Regions from separate parts of the Homo sapiens genome. Here region 2 is linked to region 1. The links are contacts of gene promoters, found by promoter capture Hi-C in blood cells and fetal thymus (Javierre and others, 2016). All regions are on one chromosome and are shown on one strand. Each heading gives the region's core, a stretch centred on a gene start or on the middle of the fragment in contact. The rest is flanking DNA. Distances are from core to core; before and after follow the strand shown.

The links. The method cuts DNA at HindIII sites, captures the fragments that hold promoters and counts their contacts. A CHiCAGO score of 5 or more calls a contact.
Region 2: the fragment with the promoter of ARB2A here is called in contact with the fragment with the promoter of TMEM161B in region 1 in 1 of 17 cell types (naive CD4 T cells); the score reaches 6.0 in naive CD4 T cells.

Annotation. Positions count from the first base shown.
Region 1 is chr5:88,265,298-88,271,523 of GRCh38, forward strand. TMEM161B (transmembrane protein 161B) reads right to left here and starts at 3,548. Exons shown (of 12, transcript NM_153354.5): 1 at 3,424-3,548. The coding sequence starts at 3,426. It overlaps TMEM161B-DT (TMEM161B divergent transcript), which reads left to right and starts at 3,585. Exons shown (of 3, transcript NR_039995.1): 1 at 3,585-3,730; 2 at 5,229-5,288. RefSeq lists enhancers at 3,335-3,834, 3,525-3,714. The HindIII fragment of the contact is 4,710 bases long and covers 1-4,622 here.
Region 2 is chr5:94,108,535-94,114,760 of GRCh38, forward strand. ARB2A (ARB2 cotranscriptional regulator A) reads right to left here and starts at 3,129. Exons shown (of 11, transcript NM_032042.6): 1 at 2,977-3,129. LOC105379087 (a long non-coding RNA gene) reads left to right here and starts at 3,168. Exons shown (of 7, transcript XR_001742441.2): 1 at 3,168-3,205; 2 at 3,791-3,870; 3 at 5,021-5,131; 4 at 6,213-6,226. The HindIII fragment of the contact is 15,548 bases long and covers 1-4,287 here.

The DNA of each region.
Region 1 (6,226 bases), core at 2,298-4,797:
CTGGTTTCATGGAAGACGATTTTTTCACACATTGTGGAGGCAGTGTGGAGGAAGGATGGTTTCGGGATGAAATTGTTCCACCTCAGATCATCAGGCATTAGATTGTCATTTAAGGGTCACCTAACTCAGGTCCCTCACATGCACAGTTCACAACAGGGTTTGCGCTCCTATGAGAATATAATGCCACCACTGATCTGACAGGAGGTGGACCTCAGGCATTAATACTCACTTGCCCACCACTCACCTCCTGATGTGCAGCCCAGTTCCTAACAGGCCATGGACCAGTACAAGTCCACAGTCCCAGGGGTTGGGAACCTGTGACCTACTACATGACCCAACCTGCTCTCAGTTAGAAATAATTTCTTTCCACTGTACTCTTTGAGCCTATTATATGTGTTTCTCTTATAGCATTTACACACTCTTCCCAACACTCCCCTCCACTCCCCTCAAAAAGAAAACTTTTCATCAAATCCAATTGATTATGGCAAAGGTTTATAACCTCCCCATGGCCTACTCTCCCACACCTGCCCACAAACCATTGTTCAATTACAGCAGTAAGTTACTACAGGATGATACACAGATGCAAGCCGTGATATCTGCAATTCCAGGAGCTAGCTCTAATCTACCTATCTTCCACAAATTAGCTTGAATGGTAGAAAGATTTATATTTGATCAAAGTTGGTCTGTAATTTTCAAAAAGGAAAGTGCAATAGAGCAAATGGCTTTATTCCATTAGTAAATTTCCTATAGACTTGTCTTCACAACAACTTGAAAGCATAAAAATTAAGCGTGAGTTCAGTATTTTCAGTCTGGATCATAATCCTATTCTCCTTCATTCATAATACAAAAACCTTGTTATAGGCACAGGTATCTATTGAGTATCGGTATACATAATGTATGAGAGAATGAGAGCACAGAATTAGTTTATCATTGATTAAAACAAGAATTAAATCAAAACATTCCAAGAGTTGTGTTCCATTCTGGAGCAGTATTTAAGACAGTAGTGAAAGACTTGGCCAAATATACAAAGATTCCAAGTACTATCTATGTGACTTATGAAAAAAATGAAAAAGAGAATGATAAAAGAAATCAAACTTAAGCCAAAATGGCATGGAAACAAAACAGTGGAAATCAGACTAACTTTTATTTAATCTGAAACATGTAACTATCCTCAAAAATGTTGAGTAGTCATGGAATCATAAATTTAAGAAGGTGCTTTAATACCCATCAAGTCCCACTTCTCTTACCCAGGAGGAATTTGGAACTCTTATCAAAATTGAGTGACTTTTCCAAATCCATATAACTAACAATGGGCAGAATCTGGGTCCTCTGGGGTCAATACTAATGTTCTTTTCATAATATCATTAGGCCCCAGCAATGCAAAACAAGTTCTGATTTCAACAAGCTGAATCCTCAATAAATTCAGCCCATGTTCACTTCATTTAATGGTTAAACTCTTCCCTTTGAAAAATTCCAAGCATTAACCACACTTGCATATACAGACATTATCAATTTCATAGCTGGGAAAGATAAAACTCAGCCAAGATAATTAGCTCAGAAATATAAGCACTTCCAGAAGGAAAAGAGCCAACTAGTTAGTTCCAAAATGACATTCAGAAAAACAGCATAAGATTACATTAGTTCCAAACATTAACCATCTCTTTTGAACCGACAGGATAAGCAGGATTCTACTTCTAGTATTCCAAAACACTGAGAACAAGTTCATGTTCAGCTTTTCTGTGACTATGATGAACTTAAGTATTTTAATTATACTTTACCTTCAACTTTTCAGACCAAAAAGTCAAAAATTAATCTTAAATTTAAAAAATGAAAATATGAGTTTTAGTCCAGACTGCCAAACTACTGTTACTTTAGAAAAATCACTGTCAATTTCTAGACCCCAGATTCTTTCTTCTGTAAAAATGGGGATGGAAGAGTGATTACTAGGCTTTGGTTTCTCCCAGTTCTGTTTTCCCTATCCTTGTCTAATTTCACTGATACAAAAGAAAAACAACTTTCTTAATACAAACCATATTATTCACTGAGGCTTAAAAAAAAAAACTTTAAAGAGATAGGTTATCTGGTAAAGTGCACCAGGAACTACATTATTTTGAAGGTCTTTGTTCTACATTCAGCTAAGTTTCTAAAAGTCATTCAAAAGCCAATCACCACACACATTAACTGAATGTTGGCAATATTTGGCCCTGAAAATATAAGACAAACTGAAGCTAAATTCCAGGACAGAAGCCTCTGCAAGTGAGGGTTTGAAATCTTGTATACGGTGAAGAAACTGACAATAATGAACTTCACCAGAGCCCCGTGATCTTGAAAAACAGCAAAGGTTAAGAAACCCCTTGCCCCCGTTTGTGTTCTGAGAAATTGGCTTACTGCAAAGAATCATCTTTCCTGTAGAACTTAGATAAGACTAAGGGTTGATCCATACCCCCCTACCCCTTGTTTACCTATAACAAGGCCATAACTAGACCCTTCTAATTCCCATCCTTTGCTTCGTAAATGACTTGCTGAAGTACCTGTCCCACAGATCAATCGGAACAAAATACTTATTAACCAAACTTTAAGATTCTCTTCTCTCGGGTACCTGAATTTTGTCCTTCCCTCAGTCTGAAACAACATATACAAACCTCTCCTAACAGCTCCTCCTCAGAATACATGGGCTCAGGGTAAAACATTATCTGGTTACTGCCGGATCATACCCATATTTTCATCCCAATTCCTGACATCTTATTTACCCCTACCAACAAAAGACAAACCCTTTCTGCCTAACCTTTAAGGTGCATGCAAATCTTACGGTCATTCTCCCTACTGCAACAGTTCCTTCAACCTTCCTCCACACCCCTGCAATATTCCTTTCGAATAAAGTCTGTCCTTACTAAACTCGGGTTTTTTATTTGACACCCTTTTCAATTATGAAATGGCTAAGTGTAAAGAATAAGGGGACTACCGTTTCTTTAAATGACAGGTGTTGATCTTATACAAGGAGACCCGTTGTGTCCACCTGGAGAGGCTAAAAGCATTTCTAAGATCTGAAGTTCTTGGCCACTGTTCCGCGGATGGAGAAGGGGGCGCAGAAGAGGTGACTGACCCGGCAAGGTCAACTCTGGGATCACCTGGCGCCACAGGCCATACACAGTAAATGGGCCATGAACAGGCAGGCTACCCAGTCCATACTCCCTGACAGATACGCCCCTGCCTCCGGCCCGCTAGTCTCCCAGACAGGTAGGCGTAATGCTGCTTCCTCAGGGGCTCAGACACCCTGAGATAGGTGGTGGGTCCTACCCAGCAGCTCATCCCAACGTCTCAACTCCATTCTGAGCAGAGCACCTGATGGCTCTTTTCACAGTACTGACCTCCCCGCCCTTTTCGCCCCACCGTTGTCACTCCTGCCCTCACAGAAGAACTCACCATGGCGCCTAGGATAGGTCGTGGACCAGACACCCTGGAGTTGCCGGGGCAGTCCCAAACCTCTTACCTCCCGGTCCTTGAGCCGAGAGACTCTCAAACAGCGAAAGAGAGGGTCTTCCGGCTCTGCCGGAAGTTGTGCGCGCGCGGGACAGGAAGTTCCTCCCTTCTCCAGAGCGCCGTCGACCCCACGCCACGCAGAGGTGAAGATACGCAGGACGTCCTCTAAAGCAACTTCCGTGGGTGCCAGGTTGTGGGCTGGGGGCGGTGCTGACCTTGAGAGAGCGGAGGAGGCGCAGGCGCAGCACAGGTACGTGGGCGGGCGGATCGTGGTGGCTGCGCTTGCGAGGACCCTGAGGTAGATTGGGTGGTTTCAACAGGAACGCATCCACTGTCTGAGAGGTGACGGAGGCACACGTTGGTGTGGGGAGCGGGAGGGGAGAGGGAGGGGGGCGGGTGGGGGGCGGGAGGGGGCCAGGGGTGGGAGTGAGGGTGCGCGATGGGAGTCGACTCCAGACCCAGGTGATTTAGAGAGAGTAAAGACCACCTTTGGCCGTCATTTTGTCTCAGCTTAACTGACGCCCTCTTGTTACCCTCTAGTTTTCCTGACTCGGTCCCTTATTAGCATATCCTCATTTCCACAGACCTGTCCGTCTGTTGCTTCTGTTCCCTGCCTTAGTGGGTACCGTAGCTCTACCCTCCTTCCGGGCAATGGAATCTCATAGTGAGAAGTTTCTTCACTATTCACAGGTGGCAATTGAAGCCGGAAGAACATCTACCAAGAGCAGAGAACCCAGGAAGAAAATTCTGCCTCTTTAATACGTTCCAATATGGACGTTTTCCATATAGATACCTATCTATATAGATAGATGCTCTGGGATCTGACGGTCCTGGACACCTGTATGGCTGTGTGCTGTGGTCTTTGCCTAGCCTGCGGTTCACTTTTGCTCTGGCCACCACCTCCCCTCATGTACAAACCGCGTCTCTGCTCTGCCAGTCTTGGCCCCCGTCAGGCAGCGGTTCACTCCCTCACCAGGGAAGTCTAGATAGATAGATATAGATAGATATCGATCGATAGATATAGATATATATATAGATAGATAGATAGGTAGATATATGGATAGATATAGATATTTGGATAGATATGTAGACGTCTATCTATAAATATATCGATATATCGGGGTTCTCAGCCATCCCAAAGAAGCTTGCACAGGGCCAGTTGCTTTATGTCAGGAAAAGGGACACAGACTGAGTGTATGAGGGTTTTTTTTTTCTATAGATGTATAGATATTTATATCAGATGCAAATAAGTGAAACTCTCATACAACTTTTAATTTTGTGTTTTTTCCAAACTCTATTCCATTCAACTTTTTCTGCCTTTTTATTTGATTATAATGAGACATCGTACTGGAGGCAGGCTTGAAATGGATATACAGAGCACTTTCAACCCAGAAATTTGTCTCACGACTTGGGGTCCTTACTTAAGTTGTAGCTGTTAGTAATTTCATCCATGAATTCACTTTGTGCCATAGTGTGATGTTTTGTTATGAAGTTGGAATTGGGAAGGGAAACTAGGAAGTTTTGGGAGAAGTTAAGAAGGTTGAGTAGGCAGGCGTTGTTATAGATATTAAATTTCACCCTGCTTATCAAAGTACCTGGAGCGTATGGTATCCAAGCTGTAAATGGCCCAAAGGAATCGGGGTTCTCAGCCATCCAAAAGAAGCATGCACAGGGCCAGTTATTTTATGTCAGGAAAGGGGACACAGACTGAGTGTATGAGGGTTTTTTTTTTTGTTTTTTTTTTTTAGTTTAAACTTGATTTTGTGAGGGGACGAACAGCGTGACAATTAAAAGAAGATCTGGGAATCGTAAGTACTGACAGAATACCTGGAGGGAAGGTGGGACTGGAGAATAGTTTGTGAAACAGATCCTGCTGAGGATGAATCCAGAACTTCCTGAAGGGTTCCGCTTCTGCTGTGTAGGGACAAGGTTGTAAATAGACAAGCCACAGGCACCTGCAAATGGTAAGTGTGGTAGAGAGGGGCTGGAATTGCCTGTTGGTGTATCTGTGGGAAGCAGCTGCTATCCTTGAGGAAGAAAAGATGGAGAAGGTAAGTGGCTATCAACCTGTCAGAGACAACACATTCTGTGAAGTTGTACTCTTTCATTTCTGACACTGTGGTTCTTAATATCTGTCCTAAACCTGGCAGTCATTGAGGTTCGCAAAGTATCTCCTTCTATGTGACAGTAAAACTGGAATTACTATCAGAATGGAATCCATTCCTGCTAGAGTAAAACCATGAAAAGAAATCGCAGTTTTGATTATCTGCTTATCATTTTTAATAGATCACAGAGTGCAGTGTTCCTTATTTGTTGTATGGCAAGTTGATGAATAACTCTTGATTAATATCTTTTAATGTTCTGTTTCACACAGTTCTCTCAATTACATGTGAAAAATCTGTTATATAAGTAATGCTATTTAATGATTAAAATGGATATATGTTTTAAGGTAGTGCCACCCAGTCTTTTTTTTTTGGTAGAATAATATTATTATCTATTGGTTGCCTGCCTTGAAGTACAGTAATTTCTCTGTTTCCATTATTTAAAATAGGTGAGTGTCTTTGACAAAGATACAAAGAAAGGGGACAGTTATGAAAGGGAAGAAAAGATAGATGGAGATGAAAAGAAATTCAGTAGTTTCAGCAAGGGAATTAGGAGCATAATCTTTGAGAAAAGTCTTGGTTGCTTACCATTCGGGCTTTGTGATGAGTTGAAATGTCCTGAATGAGAACTGTTCTCAAATGCT
Region 2 (6,226 bases), core at 1,879-4,378, 5.8 Mb after region 1:
AAATTTTTATTAAATCATATCTTAAAATAAATTCATAGAACTCCAAAAATATATACCAGTGGTCAAAAAGGACATGAAAAGATGCTTAACATCACCAATCATTAGGGAAGTGCAAATTAAAACCACAGAGAGATACTACTTTACACCCATCAGGATCGCTATTATCAAAAAAACAAAAAATGTGTTTGGCAAGGATGTGGAGAAATGGTGAGGATGTGGCAAAATGTTGGTGAGGATGTGGAGAAATTGGACTCCTTTGCATTGCTGGTGGGAATGTAAAATGAGGTGGCTGCTGTGGAAAAGAGTGTGTCAATTCCTCGAAAAAAAGTATACATATAGATATATATACATATAAAATTTCCATGTGATCTAGCAATTTCCCTTCTGGAGAGATATCGAAAAGAAATGAAAGCAGAGAGTTGAACAGATATTTGCACTCTCATGTTCATAGCAGCATTATTCACAATAACCAAAGGATGGAAACAACCCAAGCATCCATGGATGAATGAATGGATAAACAAAATGTATTAACAGCATATGCACACAATGGATAATTGTATTTCACCTTAAAAAGAACATTCTGACACACGCTACAACATGGACGAACGTTGGAGACATTATACTAAGTGAAATAAGCCAGTCACAAAAGGTCAAATAGTGCATGATTCCACTTATATGAGGTACCTAGAGTAGTCAAATTCATAGAGGCAGAAAGTAAATTGGCAGTTGTCAGGGGCTGAAGGTAACAGAAAACGAGGTGTGAGTGTTTAATAGGTATGAAGTTTCAGTTGGGGATGATGAAAAACTTCTGAGTGAAAAATAAAGTTGGCATAGTACAGGGACATACTCCATACTTAGTTACCAATGACTACTGTGCAAACCCAATCTGACTCTAAAAACAGAGACAGTACAAGTTGTATACAACTGAGTAAATAGTGCTTACTTTTGTTAGAGCTCAATGAAGAGCACAGAAACATCTCTACATATCTACAGACACCAGATTCTCCTCAGAGGTTTGTCTGGGAAAGCTGAAAAAAATAAACTGTAAATAAATAAAATCCCTCATGCCACCAAATCAAGGAATAAATATTCATTCTTGAGATTGTTAAGTACTGCTACCTCCATGCCTACATCCTTGCTATTCCAAATATATCAAACACGCTCCTGTCTCAGTGCCTTTGTACTAGGCCAACTCATTCCTCCATACTTGCGGAGCTCACTCCCTCATTTCATTCAGATCTCCACTCAAGTGTTCCCTTATCAGAGAGGGTGAGCTTACCACCCTATCTAAAATAGCATCCTCTATCATTCTCTCTCCCCTTAATTTATTTTTCTCTATACCTCTTTTTTTTTTTTTTTTTTTTTCTGGAGACGGAGTCTCGATCTGTCACCCAGGCTGGAGTGCAGTGGCATGATGTCGGCTCACTGCAACCTCCGCCTTCCCGGTTCAAGCAATTCTCCTGCCTCAGCCTCCAGAGTAGCTGGGAATACAGGCGCACGCCACCACACCCAGCTAATTTTTTTGTATTTTAGTAGAGACGGGGTTCACCGTGTTGCCCAGGCTGGTCTCAAACTCCAGGGATCAGGCAATCCGTCCGCCTCGGCCTCCCAAAATGCTAGGATTACAGGCGTGAGCCACCGCGCCCTGCCTTTCTCTATACCTCTTAATCACTACTTGTTATATATTTACTTGTTAATTATACGTCTCCATCCACTAGAATGTAAGTTCCAGGAGCAAAAGGACTTTCTATTTTGTTTACTGCTGTCTTCCCATCACCTGAACACTATCCGGCACACTGAAGGTTGCCAGTAAATACTTGCTAAATGGATAAACAAGTGGATGCTCATGGTTTCATAGATAATATTTCCCTCTTGGCCTTGGTACTATTTATTCTACCATATGGAGCAGCCATAGCCTGAAAGCATCCAGAGCATCCTTAACTTTTCAGCGTAGGATTCACTGGTTAAGTGGAAGTAAGGCCTAGTTGAAAATTCTGAAAGAAGCCTGGTACCAGCACTGTCACTGAGGCCTTAACGAAGCAGATCCAAAAATACTCTCTTACTCAGTTTCTACATTCGCTAAATGTATACAGTGTAACCGTCCCTCGCATTGTAGGATAAAGAATACACCTTATCAATGAGATATTTGTTATGCAGTATATGGCATGCGTTAATGCAAACGATGTCATGTACTACATTAAAAAATCGCACTGATATTTTGATAAATATACAATGCACTTGTAGATAAAAACCAGAGAATTTTTCCCTCTACAGCTTTTTTGAGGATTTGGGAGAAATGGACAAATGCAACAACATTGCATGTCATTAAATACAGTATATCCAAACACAACGAGTTTCTTGGCCCAACAGATATAGACCCTGGAGCACTATAAGAATATGTTAAACACCTGGATGAGGGAAAGAGAAGACTGCTTCCAAAACATACTTACTTTATTTCAAAGTCAAAAGTATTCAACACTTAATTCATACTGCATCCCAGAGAAACGTCCCACCCGCGCCCATGCATGTTACAAGTTTTGAGAGCATTTTATAACTGCACTTTAATCCCTCTGCAGTGAATGACTTCTGGTAAAGCGCTGGCAGTTAATAATACTTTTTGTAGAAAAAAAAATTAATACAACAACCACAATACCTCCACTCGCAAGAAAGCGGAGGAGGGCCCATTACTCTGTCTCCAGGGACTCCCAGAATCCCGTACGCCCCGACATAAGGAAAGTCATCCAGGGAACACACACGTCGCTCCCGCCTAGAGAGTGGAAATGGAACATGGGACCTGCCCATCAGCGGAGGCCCAGACACAAGTCAGAGGTGTCCGCAGGGAATGCAGCGTGGTTCCAGACAGCCTCGGTCCCCAGGGCCAGCGACCACCGCCTGAGACCGACCCAGGCCAGCCCCCTCCTGATTTCGACCCGGGCCTGCCCCCGGAGCTCACATCCCCGCAAACGGCAGTCCTACCTGAGCTCTGCCCCCAGCCACAGGGCTGAGGGGGCAGGCGGGAGGAGGCGTGGCCTTCCAGTTCGCCAGTCGAACTCCCTCGTGCGGTTGTTATGACTTTCCCTCTCGGGATCCGCGCCCCGACCAAGTTCGAGTTGCACTTCCGGGGTCTTCAGGAGATTGATACGTCATTACGCACTTGACGGCAGCGGCGGCGACAACCCGGAAACGGGCGGGGCGCGGGCCCTGGGTAGGTTCCTGTGGTATTAGGTGGACTGGAGAAAGAGGCCCGCGTGAATTAAGTGTAGTTCTCTTATGCACTGGCGGACTCTGGTCGCCCTTCCTTGTGAAGGCTGCCTGGGTAGCCGTAGAGGACGAGGCCACTCTAAAGCCTCGTTTTCCCAGCGGAATTTTAACTATTCTAAGGATGTCCTTACAGCCAGTTCCCCACTCCGCTACTCAGAGTGTGTCAGACTTTACCCTGTCCATTCAACTCCAGAAAAACCGGGAGGTCTAGATTCGGAAGATTAAATTTACCTTTGAATTAGGACATGTAAAATAGGAAGTTAATATTAGCATCCTAATGACAAAAGTTTTCTCGTTATCATACTTGACTCAAATGGGAATCTTACGGATATTAATGTTTTTTCCAGAAACAGGTTTGAAAGGTATTTCAAGGATAAATCTGGGGAAAGGGATGGAAGCAACTGATTTTTAATTTTTAGATAGTACTCTCAGAGCATTTATTTAGTCCAAAACTGTTAATTTAATGAATTAGGCTAAACTAGACGCTGGGGTAACAAAGCTGAGTTAGATACCCTCTCCTCTGAGGCAGCTAAAGAGAAGGAAAGTCTGGTGGCTGACAAGTAAACCAACAGTTATGTTCTTCAGAGAGGAGATCTCAGACTCTCTAAGGTATACTTCACTTCCACACTGTTTGTACTTTGCAAATGTACCCTGCCCCCTAAAATGTAAACTCACTGATGGTAGTGACATAATCTTGTCTTTTTAATGTATCCTCAACCATACAACAGTGCCTGTCCACAAAGTAGACAATAAATACTTATTGAATGACTGAATGATCACAGTGGTAAATAATAGATTGGGGAAATCTAGAAAAGTGTATAGGACAAGAAGAAAGTGGTGTAAGTAAGTGGCGGGAGATAAGGAGCAGTAAAAGGTGAGAGAATCCACTGGAGTTAGCCAGAACTGAGTACCTGAATGAATCTCGGGCATTGCAAGACTGTTAGGGCTTCATTTCCGGAAAGAACTCAAATGGTTTGTAGAGTGACACTTTATACTGAAGAGGAAGGCAACAGCCAGATTCTGAAAAGCTTTCTATGTCATGCTGAGTAATTTGATTTTCTGCTGCAGACAATTGGGGAAGCTGAAGGATTGTTGAACAGAGGAGGGAAACATTTTTATTTTGGTGGACTTTTGCAACAGTGACAGATTATATTAAAAAGATAAGGCTCCCAAAAATGTATAATCCCAGTTTAACCATGAGAAAAACATCAGACAAAATACCTGACCAGTACTACTCCAAACAGTTAAAGTCATGAAAAACAAGGAAAGTCTGAGAAACTGTCTGAGCCAAGAGGAGCCTAAAGAGACCAACTTTAATGTTGGATCCTGAAATAGAAATAGAACGTAAGTGAGAAAACTAGTGAAAATTGAATAAAAAAGTAACATTCCATTAAGAGAATATACCAATGTTTACATAAAATATGGAGATTGGTCAAAAGATGAGTGACATGACCTTTCAATATTTCCAGGATAGAGGCCCACTCAAGGGTTAGGGGAATGTACTTTGTTCAGTAGTAAACTATTGAACAAACATATGGGTGCTTCAGCCTGCAATTCCAGCTGGACTTACATGGGAATGAATGAGCCTTCAGATTGTTCCTGTCATTGAGTCAGCTGGGGTCCAAAATTTCATAAAGCAGAGACGAGCCATCCCCACTGTGCCCAGTTCTGAATTCCTGACCCACAGAAACAATTAGAGATAATGAAAATGATTCTTGTTACTTTAAGCCAGTAAATTTTGGAGTGATTTGTTTTTCAGCAAAAGAAACTAATAGCTGTATGACAACAGCCAAAGAGTAAATATCCTTTCAAGTCCAATCCTGCCTAAGATGTCAAAATCAAGAATGAAGAGGTTATGTGCTGAAACAGAGTGAGTCCTTTTCTCTCCTTACTCTACCCTAAATGGTAAACTCCTGCCTCAGCTGACCACAAAAATATCTTCTGCAAATCTGTGAGGAGAAAGGAGGGAAAGCAACAAAAATTGTATGTGGGCTTAGATGTTTTGTTAGAATTACAACAGCCCATGTGTAGCTTAGCAGAAACCATTACAATGATGACTACACAATATAGTACAAAAATGTCCCCTCATTTTAACCATAGTCATCTAAACTGTACAAGTTAGTTTATAATTTTAATTTATACATCTCTAGGGAAGCCAGAAACTTCAGTTTCTCTCCCCACCTCTCTTCTCTTGCACTTCAAAATCCTACTAAGATAAGGAAAAAGGAAAGGAGATTTGTTCCCTCCTGGCTAACAGCTGGTCCATCTTTGATCACTAGGATGATCAAAGAAATGTCCCTATACCATATTTTGCGTATCCTCCTCCTATTCCAGACCACTTCCTTGGGCATCTATCTTTTTATCAATCTACTCCCACCCTTCACATTAAATGATTTCAGTGACATACAGCAGACAGACACCTCCAAAAATACTAACAAGGCTACATGTTGTTCATTTAAGTTAAAAATAAAATTTAAACCTACTTATCATGACTAGGACTCAGTGCCAACATTTTGGCAGCTCAAGAAAATCCATTAAGGAAAATATTCTTAATTAGATGCTAAGGGCAAAGCTCTGTCCAAACTAACCAACTGTATTAGAATGAGGTCTGGATTCTGACTTAAATTTGGAGAATCAAGTAACATTCCTGCCCTTGCTCAAGCCCAAGCAGGAATGTGCTGTGGTTTGAATGTGTTCTCTAAAAATTCATGCATTGGAAACATAATTGCCATTGTAATAATATTAAGAAGTGAAGCTTTAAAGAGGTGATTTAGGTGATAGGGACTGTGCCCTCATAAAAGGATGAATGCCATTATTGTGGGAGTGGGTTAGTTATCATGGGAGTGAGCTCCTGATAAAAGGATAAATTTGGTCCCCATTTTCTCTCTGTCTTGTGCACTCTCACTACTCTGTCTCACCCTCTCTCCCCCTGTGATGCTTTCTGCCACAAGATGACCTTCACAAG